Regions from separate parts of the Homo sapiens genome. Here region 1 is linked to region 2. Evidence: promoter capture Hi-C in 16 types of primary human blood cells and fetal thymus (Javierre and others, 2016). All regions are on one chromosome and are shown on one strand. The core of a region is centred on a gene start or on the middle of the fragment in contact, and the rest is flanking DNA. Distances in the headings are between cores, read along the strand shown. Region 1 holds the start of SYNPO2L (synaptopodin 2 like). Region 2 holds the start of ANXA7 (annexin A7).

Region 1 (4,143 bases), core at 528-3,027, 240 kb before region 2:
ACTAAAAATACAAAAAGCTAACTAAGTGTGGTGGCACATGCCTGTAGCCCCAGCTACTCAGGGGGCTGAGGCAGGAGAATTGTTTGAACCTGGGAAGCAGAGGTGGCAGTGAGCCAAGATCTCCATTGCACTCCAGCCTGGGCGACAGGGCGAGACTCCATCTCAAAAAAAAGAACCCAAGTTCAATTCTTCTGACCCCAAAATCCCAACTATTTTCTTCTTGGAGATCAGGTCTCCCTCTGTTGCCTCCAATGTTTTCTCCCCTTTTTCTTTTTTTTTTTTGGAGACAGGGTCTCACTATGTCACCCAGGCTACAGTGCAGTGGCAGGATCACGACTCACTGCAGCTTCGACCTCCAGGGCTCAAGCAACCCTCCCACGTCAATATCCCAAGTAGCTGGGACTATAGGAGCATGTGACCAGGCAGGCCTGGCTAAATTTTTTTGTATTTTTTTGTAGAAACAGGGTCTCACCATGTTATCCAGGCTGGTCTTGAACTCCTGGGCTCAAGCAATCCACCTGCCTCAGCCTCTCAAAGTGCTGGGATTATAGGCATGAGCCACTGCACCCAGCCCAAGTGTTTCTAGGACATAGAGGCATATGCCAAGGCAAACGGTATTTAGCATACACTAGGTGGGCAGCTATTTTATGAAACTCTGTAGCCTTTGATAATCACAGTTATAGCACCATAATGTTATGCCTTGTAACAGAGACATTCTCGTAATGGAAACCTAGAGACAAGTAGAGATTGTATTAACATGGGTTGGTATGTTTATGCACACCTACACACCTTTCCATGACCACGTATGTATTGCAATAGGTAATTTGTTTTTTTATAGTTTTTTGTTTGTTTGTTTGTTTTTTTTTTTTTTTTGAGACGGAGTCTCGCTCTGTCACCCAGGCTGGAGTGCAGTGGCACGACCTCGGCTCACCACAAGCTCTGCCTCGCGGGTTCACGCCATTCTCCTGCCTCAGCCTCCAGAGTAGCTGGGACTACAGGCGTCTGCCACCAAGCCCAGCTAATTTTTTGTATTTGTAGTAGAGACGGGGTTTCCTCGTGTTAGCCAGGATGGTCTCAATCTCCTGACCTCGTGATCCGCCCACCTTGGTCCCAAAGTGCTGGGTTTACAGGTGTGAGCCACCGTGCCCAGCCTATAGTTTTTTGGTTTTTTTTTTTAACTTTTTTTAATAATAAGAAAATAGAGATGGGGGGCCATCTCACGATGTTGCCCAGGCTGGTCTCAAATTCCTGGACTCAAGCAATCCACCCACCTTGGCCTCCCAAAGTGCTAGGATTACAGGCGTGAGCCACCATGCCTGGCCCACCATTTATTAATTAACAGATAAATTTATATAGCGAGAGTGCATTCTTTCCTGGGATCTTGGAGCAAGCCCAGCCATTCTTTGCCAGCTATGGAATTGAAGCCCCTGCTGCTGCCACTTTGAAAGGGTCTTTGGAGGAAAGCAGTTGAGATTAGCCCATGGTCCTATTAGAGAAGGCACAGTTCCTGAAAGGGTGTACATTGGTTATAGAGCCCAGAGAGTTTGTATTCTGAGTCCTGAATAAAAGGCCCATGCAGGAGAATTGGGAACATGGAGGGCAGAAGTTTGTACTATAATTAGCTCTAGGAGTAACACAGAAGGGGGAGGGAGGGGAGTACAAGCGGCATCTATTTTGAGCACATCTGCGATTGACGGGACATGTGTGCTGGACTGTAATGATCCCAGGGCCAAGTTGCCTGCCTGTGGTGTGTGGTGTGGGGGGGAGGCCTGGGGCAGCAGGAGCAGGACAGCCGGACAGGAAGCCCAGACGGGGTTCGAGCACCTCAACTTCTCTCCTGGGGACACTGTTCAAACTCCGGGGGCCATAGGCCAAGCTGAGCGATGGGTGCTGAGGAGGAGGTGCTGGTCACACTATCAGGGGGAGCCCCCTGGGGCTTCCGACTTCATGGGGGGGCCGAGCAGAGGAAACCGTTACAGGTGTCTAAGGTAAGGGAGAGCCCCTGAAATGAGGCTTCAGGGAAAGGGAACCCAAGGGATCCTGGGAAGAGATGTGTGGTGGCATATGGCGGGGGTTGGGGGGGTGGGAGGCTGTGAAGATGGGGTGGGTGGTGGGCAGGGAAGTATGCTCAAGTCTCATAGTGGGAGTAGCGTCTGACCACAGGCTTCCTGTGGGGGTCTATTAGAAAAGAGAATTCGCGGTTTCCAGGGAGCAGAGGAAAAGGAAAGGCTCTGCTTCAGTTCCCTGCAGCACTGTGGTATCAGAGGCCCAGCTCTGGTCATCCAGTGTTTGTTCTCTTGGGTATGTGCCTCTACTCCAAACTCCAGAAATACGGGGAAGGTTCTAATTTCTCTCTGACTAAACTGATATGTGATGAACTGAAACTGCCTCGAACAGCCTAGCCCAGCCCAGCCCTACCCTGCCTCACCCTGCCCTGCCCATGCCTTCAGTGCTCTTTCCCTAGGTCAGATCCTTTCTCTCACTAGGCAAGACTTTTTTAGGTGCTAGGAGGGTTATGGCAAGATCTGGCCTCACAGATGAAGTCATTATCCTTTTGGTTTCACCCTACAGGCTTAGTTTTCCGAACTGTAAAATGTGGGTAATAATAGTACCTGTACCTACTTCATGGAACCATTCTAAGGATTAAATGCAATAATACATGTAGCACAGTGCCCAACACTTAGTAAGAACTCAATAAATGGTAGCCACTACTACTATTATTACTTTGGCATATATACATTTGTGTGTATACATGGCACACATATACCCAAATAATCACAATCTCCCAGAATACCGCTGGACTCCCTCCAACCTGGAGTACTGTTCTAAAATCTTGACTGTGTAATGGCGCCTGGGGTTACAAGGCCTAGTAGAGAATTACCAGCCAATATAGATATTGCCCTTGGAGAAAAAGCTTGTGGAGATAATCACCATTTCTTTCCGTTTTTTTTCTTTTCTTTTTTTTTGCGACAGAGTCTTACTCTGTTGCCCAGGCTGGAGTGCAGTGACATGATGGCTCACTGCAACCTCTGCTTCCTGGGTTCAAGCAATTCTCCTGCCTCAGCCTCCCAAGTATCTGGGATTACAGGCGCACACCACCACGGCCAGCTGATTTTTGTACTTTTAGTAGAGACAGCGTTTCACCCATTGGCCAGGCTGGTCTCAAACTCCTGATCTCAAGTGATCCACCCACCTAGGCCTCCCAAAGCACTGGGCTTACAGGCGTGAGCCACTGCACCCAGCCAATAACCACCATTTCTAGTTACCTACCCCATGCAGTTCTTCCCAAGCCTCTTTCATTCAATGGTTACCCTATTTCCCACCATATGATGTATTTCTTTCTCCAGTCTGTATACTTTCTTCCCTCTAGACAGGCCACTTCAACTGCAGCCACTTCCATGCATCTCCCCACCCTTCTTACCCTGCAAAGTAAAATCCCCTCCTGTGGGTCCTTCCCATCTTTTCCTTTCATTCTATTCCCTTTGGAGCCCCCTCTTACCTACAGTGTCTCCTTCAACATCTCAGATTCGAAGACGGAGCCAGGCTGGCAGAGCAGGACTCCGAGAGAGGGACCAGCTCTTGGCAATCAATGGGGTCTCTTGCACCAACCTCTCCCATGCCAGTGCCATGAGCCTCATCGATGCCTCAGGAAATCAGCTTGTCCTCACTGTGCAGCGGTATGGACCTCTCTCCTCTTCTCTTCCCCTAATCCAGGGCTCCCATTGCCTGTCTCAGCTCTATGTCTCACTGGCCTGGCTTTAGCAACTAACAGGTACCTATTTCTGCTCGTGCGTTTCTGCTGGAGTGCAGATGGTTTGTGTCTGCCTCCCAGAGGGCTTGAATGTATCTGCAATTAAGGGATGGGGATGTCAGTGGGTATTTGACTGATGAGCCTACTTCAACCCCTGGCCTGTTTCCTCCTCATTACATCTTCCTCTAAGCCTATTTCCACTCACAGCCCTTCAAGCACATTTGCCTCCCAGTTTGTCTTCATATCTCCACTCTTCCCGGCCCACCCATTCCAACTGTATGACAGCCTTCTCTCTCCCTTACCTCTTCCCTCCCCCTTACCTCTTCCCTCCATCCCTTCCAGATCTCTCTAGCTGTCAGTACCCAGCCCATCTCTCAAGCTCTGTCATCTTT
Region 2 (4,413 bases), core at 1,571-4,070:
AAGCTATTAAAAAAGTTTAATCACGGGAATTACATGACCCAATTTATTCTTTAGAAAGATCACTCTGACTCAGGGTTTCTTAACCTCAGCACTATTGACTTTTTGGGCTGAATAATTCTTTGTGTAGGGACTGTAGGCATTGTAGGATACGTACCTTGTTTAGAATCCTTGGCTTTCACCCACTAGATGCTAGTAACCCCACCACCTCCCCTCAGTTGTGACAAACAAAGATGTCTCCACACATTGTCAGGTGTCCCTGAGGGACAAAATTACTATTCTAATGGAACAAAAAGGATATGAACTTAAATACCAGACTCTGGGCCAGGCGTGGTGGCTCACACCTGTAATAATCCCAGCACTTTGGGAGGCCGAGGTGGGTGGATCACCTGAGGTCAGGAGTTCGCCTGGGCAACATGGCAAATCACCGTCTGTATTAAAAATATAAAAATTTAGGCCGGACGTGGTGGCTCATGCCTGTAATCCTAGCACTTTGGGAGGCTGAGGCGGGTGGGTCATGAGGTCAGGAGATCGAGACCATCCTGGCTAACACAGTGAAACCCTGTCTCTACTAAAAATACAAAAAATTAGCCAGGCGTGGTGGTAGACACCTGTAGTCCCAGCTACTCGGGAGGCTGAGGCAGGAGAATGGCGTGAACCCAGGAGGCAGAGCTTGCAGTGAGCCGAGATCGTGCCACTGCATTCCATCCAGCCTGGGCAACAGAGTGAGACTCTGTCTCAAAAAAAAAAAAAAAAAAAAAAAAAAAAAAAGCTGGGCGTGGTGGCGGATGCCTGTAATCCCAGCTACTTGGGAGGCTGAGGCAGGAGAATTCGTTGAACCTGGGAAGCAGAGGTTGCAATGAGCTGAGATTGTGCCATTGCACTCCAGCCTGGGCAACAGAATGAGACCCTGTCTCAAAACTACAAAAACAAACAAAAAAAAACCAGACTCTGATACAGTGGGATGTTCACATTAGAAGCATGATGGCTCTTATTTCACATGAACTCTGGAACATACCATGGCCTTCAGAGATGTTGACCAGGTATGGTGGCTCATGCCTGTAATACATCCAGCACTTTGGGAGGCTGAGGCAGGTGGATCGCTTGAGGCCAGGAGTTCGAGACCAGCCTGGCCAACATGGCGAAACCCCATCTGTACTAAAAATACAAAAAAATTAGCTGGGCGTGGTGACATGCCTCCCAGCTACACGGGAGGCTGAGGCATGAGAATCGCTTGAACCCCGGAGGCAGAGGTTGCAGTGAGCCTAGATCGCACCACAGCACTCCAGCCTGGGTGACAGAGCAAGACTCTGTCTCCAAAAAAATTAAAAAATTAAAATGGTCCAGTTGAGTACAAAAAAGAAGATCAGGAAGAGTTTATTGGAGCAAGACGGAGATGAGCAACCTTGAAAACAAGTCTAATTAAGATGAGTAATTGTTAAAAGATGAGCAGTGCTTTCTAAGCAGAGGTAGCAGGAGGAAAGGGTCTCCGATCCTGTAACGCCTTTTATGCCAGGAAGAAAGGATGAATTGAAAGGATGAAATGGCAAATGTCGTAGTAGACTATTGGACTATTCCTGCAGCTCAGGAAAGTGGGCTGGAAATAAGAGGTTTGGCAAATACCCTGTTATGGTGGTATTTAAGGCAGAGGGAGGGTTTGGAACGAGCTCACAAAGGGAACTCTAGAATGAACAGAGTAGGCTTCTCAGGGAAGGCTTAAATCCTGGAGGTCTCTGGGGTAGGTAGGACAGAAAGTCCTGTTATTTTCCAGGTAGACAGACTGTTGGGCGCCGGGGAATTAATGCTGGTCACCTAGAGAGTTGTGCATTTTGTCTACCATTGTTAAATGAGGCAATGACCTGCCTCAAATACTTTTCACTCCACACACCTATTTGGAAGCCACGTATATTTTGCTTGCTCTTCCCATTTAAAATCGTAATCCACTCTATTCCACCCCCATGAGGAAGCTTTTGGGTAGAAAAGTGTGTAGAGGAATAAGTAAGTTGATGTGCATCAGATGTGCAAACTTTAGTGTGCATCAGAACCACCTGGAAGGCTTGTTAAAACAGGTTGCTGGGCACCACCCGGGGAGTTTGATTCAGTAGGTCTAAGGTGGAGTTCAATAATCTGCGTTACTAACACGTTTCCAGGTGATGCTGCTGTTCGGGGGACCACACCCAGAAGCTACCTTTTACCACTCTAAAAGGTAGCTGATTGGTTTTCTCTGTAATATAAATTCCTTAACGAGTTTAAAATATTGATCTGAGCCCTCGTAATTGCCTCAAATGTTTAATGCTAATGTGTGTTCAATGCTGTAGCCACGAGGGGAGCCTAAAATCACCTAACAACTCCTTTCGGGAGTGATTTTGATTAGTTCATCTACAGTTCCAACTAAGATTTCCCACAAATATTACTTTCACAGGAGGCTAACAAAAAACGCCGTCTTTGTCCCCAGAAAATACCTGGAGGACGGTATTTCAGAGGCGGGGAGGCTGCACCAGCCTCCCAGTCTCAGCCCTTCTCTACCGCCCGCCACTGAAGGGGCCCCGGATACCCCCAGGACTGCTGCAACTTCCTAGGTGACTTGAGGCAGCCTTAAAAGGGATTGGTGCAGGGTCCTTGCGACAGATAAATGTGATTAAAAATCCGCTGGGCCACCCGAAGGGAGAGTCTTTTTCCCTCAGGTGGCGCCTAGGGGCGGGACTGAGGGACAGCCCGCTCCCCGCAGCGCCCTCTCCGGCTCCGGGGGTGTTCCCGGCTGCAGCCGCGATCCTAACGGGCTCGCGAGACGCCCCGCCCACCCTGGGCCCGCCCCCGGCTCCATCTTGCGGGAGACCGGGTTGGGCTGTGACGCTGCTGCTGGGGTCAGGTGAGGAGCGGCGCCCCCCTCCCTTTCCCACCTCGTCTGCCTCGGTGGTCTTGCCCTCGGCCAGCTCTGGGCGCTGCTGTCCCGGTGCTAGTGGGGCGCGGCTGGAGGGCAGTGTGGGCCTCCCGGATGGCGGCGACTCGGTTTGCGCGTCTCGTAGCCGGGCTGCCGGCCGGGGTGTGTTGGGGTGGCGTGGGTGAGGCGGCCGGCCTGGCTTACGGGAAGCCCTTCCGTCCGTTTGGAAATCCCAGGGACCAGTGGCGCCCCGCCCTCGGGCAGGTGGAGGGGCTGAGGCCGGAGCGTGGCCCAGCTGCCTCGCGGGAGGCTGAGTAGGGAAACGCACGGGCAGTGCTGAAAGCCGTCTGGCTGGTAGTGGCTGTACTTTCCGGTGACACAGCGAATTTAGGGAAACTTGGGGAAATTTTTACTGTGTTTAGTGAACCGTAGGACAGAATGCGCCAGGCCAAGGTCGTACACTGGTTCTCGTTTACAGTTCTTGGAAGCTATTCTAGAATAGCATTCCAGATTTGATTGCTGTTCCCCGACCAGCAGCAAATCTGTGTTGAAATTAGCTCATCCTGTGCAAACACTGCGCAAGGAAACCAAGGTGCAGAGGTAGATGGCTGATGTCCACCGTAAAGTGACAGACATGACGCTGTTGTCTTCCGACTGCCGTAAACGCCCTGATTTTTGCCAGCTGATGGCCAGCTAATCTGCTAAATGTGTCCGAATTAGATGATGAGTGTAATGAGTTACCTTCCAGGCAAGGAAAGAGTTTCAAGCACTGAATAGGTAAAAGAGATAATTTTGGCCACTGCAAACTTTCAGTCCTTTTCAGTGAGGACTGTCTTTCAGTCCTCACTGGTGGTTGGCTACCTACCTGTCCGTGCAGAGGACTAGCCATGCCTCCATGTTCTTTCTCCACATCACTGACGGATTTAAATGATCCTACCATACCTAGAAGCCGGTTTTGCAAAATTGTATTCGCTGTTGCGCGTATCTTCAGTCACCCTTCCTGTTTCGTGTATTTTTTCCCCCATAAATTTGCAACAGCTGCCTCTTGGGTTCCTGGGCTTCATGCCATCAATGAGAAACGGTGAGACCCAGCCCTTTTACTAACTGACTCACTGGGTGGAGGTGGTTTGGAAAACCAAAAATGATTTTCTAGTCTTTTAAAAGTGATTGCTAACAGAGAATGTTTAAAAAAAAAAAAAAAAAAGCCCGAGCGCGGTGGCTCACTCCTGTAATCCTAGCACTTTGGGAGGCCGAGGCGAGAGATTCACGAGGTCAGGAGGAGTTTGAGACCAGCTTGACCAACACGGTGAAACCCCGTCTCTACTTAAAAATACAAAAATTAGCTGGGCGTGGTGGCGCGCGCCTGTAATCCCAGCTACTCTGGAGGCTGAGGCAGGAGAGTCGCTTGAACCCGGGAGGCAGAGGTTGCAGTGAGCCAAGATCGCCACTGCACTCCAGCCTGGGCGGCAGAGAGAAACTCTGTCACAAAAAAAAAAAAAACCCAAAAAACTCTAGACTTACTATTCACTTGGGCA

What was found. Contacts are between HindIII fragments. The CHiCAGO score rates a contact against its expected background, and 5 or more counts as called.
Region 1: a contact is called between the fragment with the promoter of SYNPO2L here and the fragment with the promoter of ANXA7 in region 2, in 2 of 17 cell types (erythroblasts and endothelial precursors). The highest score is 6.0, in erythroblasts.

The regions. Positions count from the first base shown.
Region 1 is chr10:73,653,663-73,657,805 of GRCh38, reverse strand. SYNPO2L (synaptopodin 2 like) reads left to right here and starts at 1,777. Exons shown (of 4, transcript NM_001114133.3): 1 at 1,777-1,988; 2 at 3,526-3,677. The coding sequence starts at 1,884. It overlaps SYNPO2L-AS1 (SYNPO2L antisense RNA 1), which reads right to left and starts at 3,767. Exons shown (of 3, transcript NR_187519.1): 1 at 3,500-3,767. RefSeq lists a silencer at 1,541-1,835. The HindIII fragment of the contact is 8,470 bases long and covers 1-2,916 here.
Region 2 is chr10:73,412,465-73,416,877 of GRCh38, reverse strand. It overlaps ANXA7 (annexin A7), which reads left to right and starts at 2,820. Exons shown (of 13, transcript NM_001156.5): 1 at 2,820-2,866. RefSeq lists a silencer at 2,637-3,196 and enhancers at 3,597-3,676, 3,687-3,806. The HindIII fragment of the contact is 4,736 bases long and covers 1,967-4,413 here.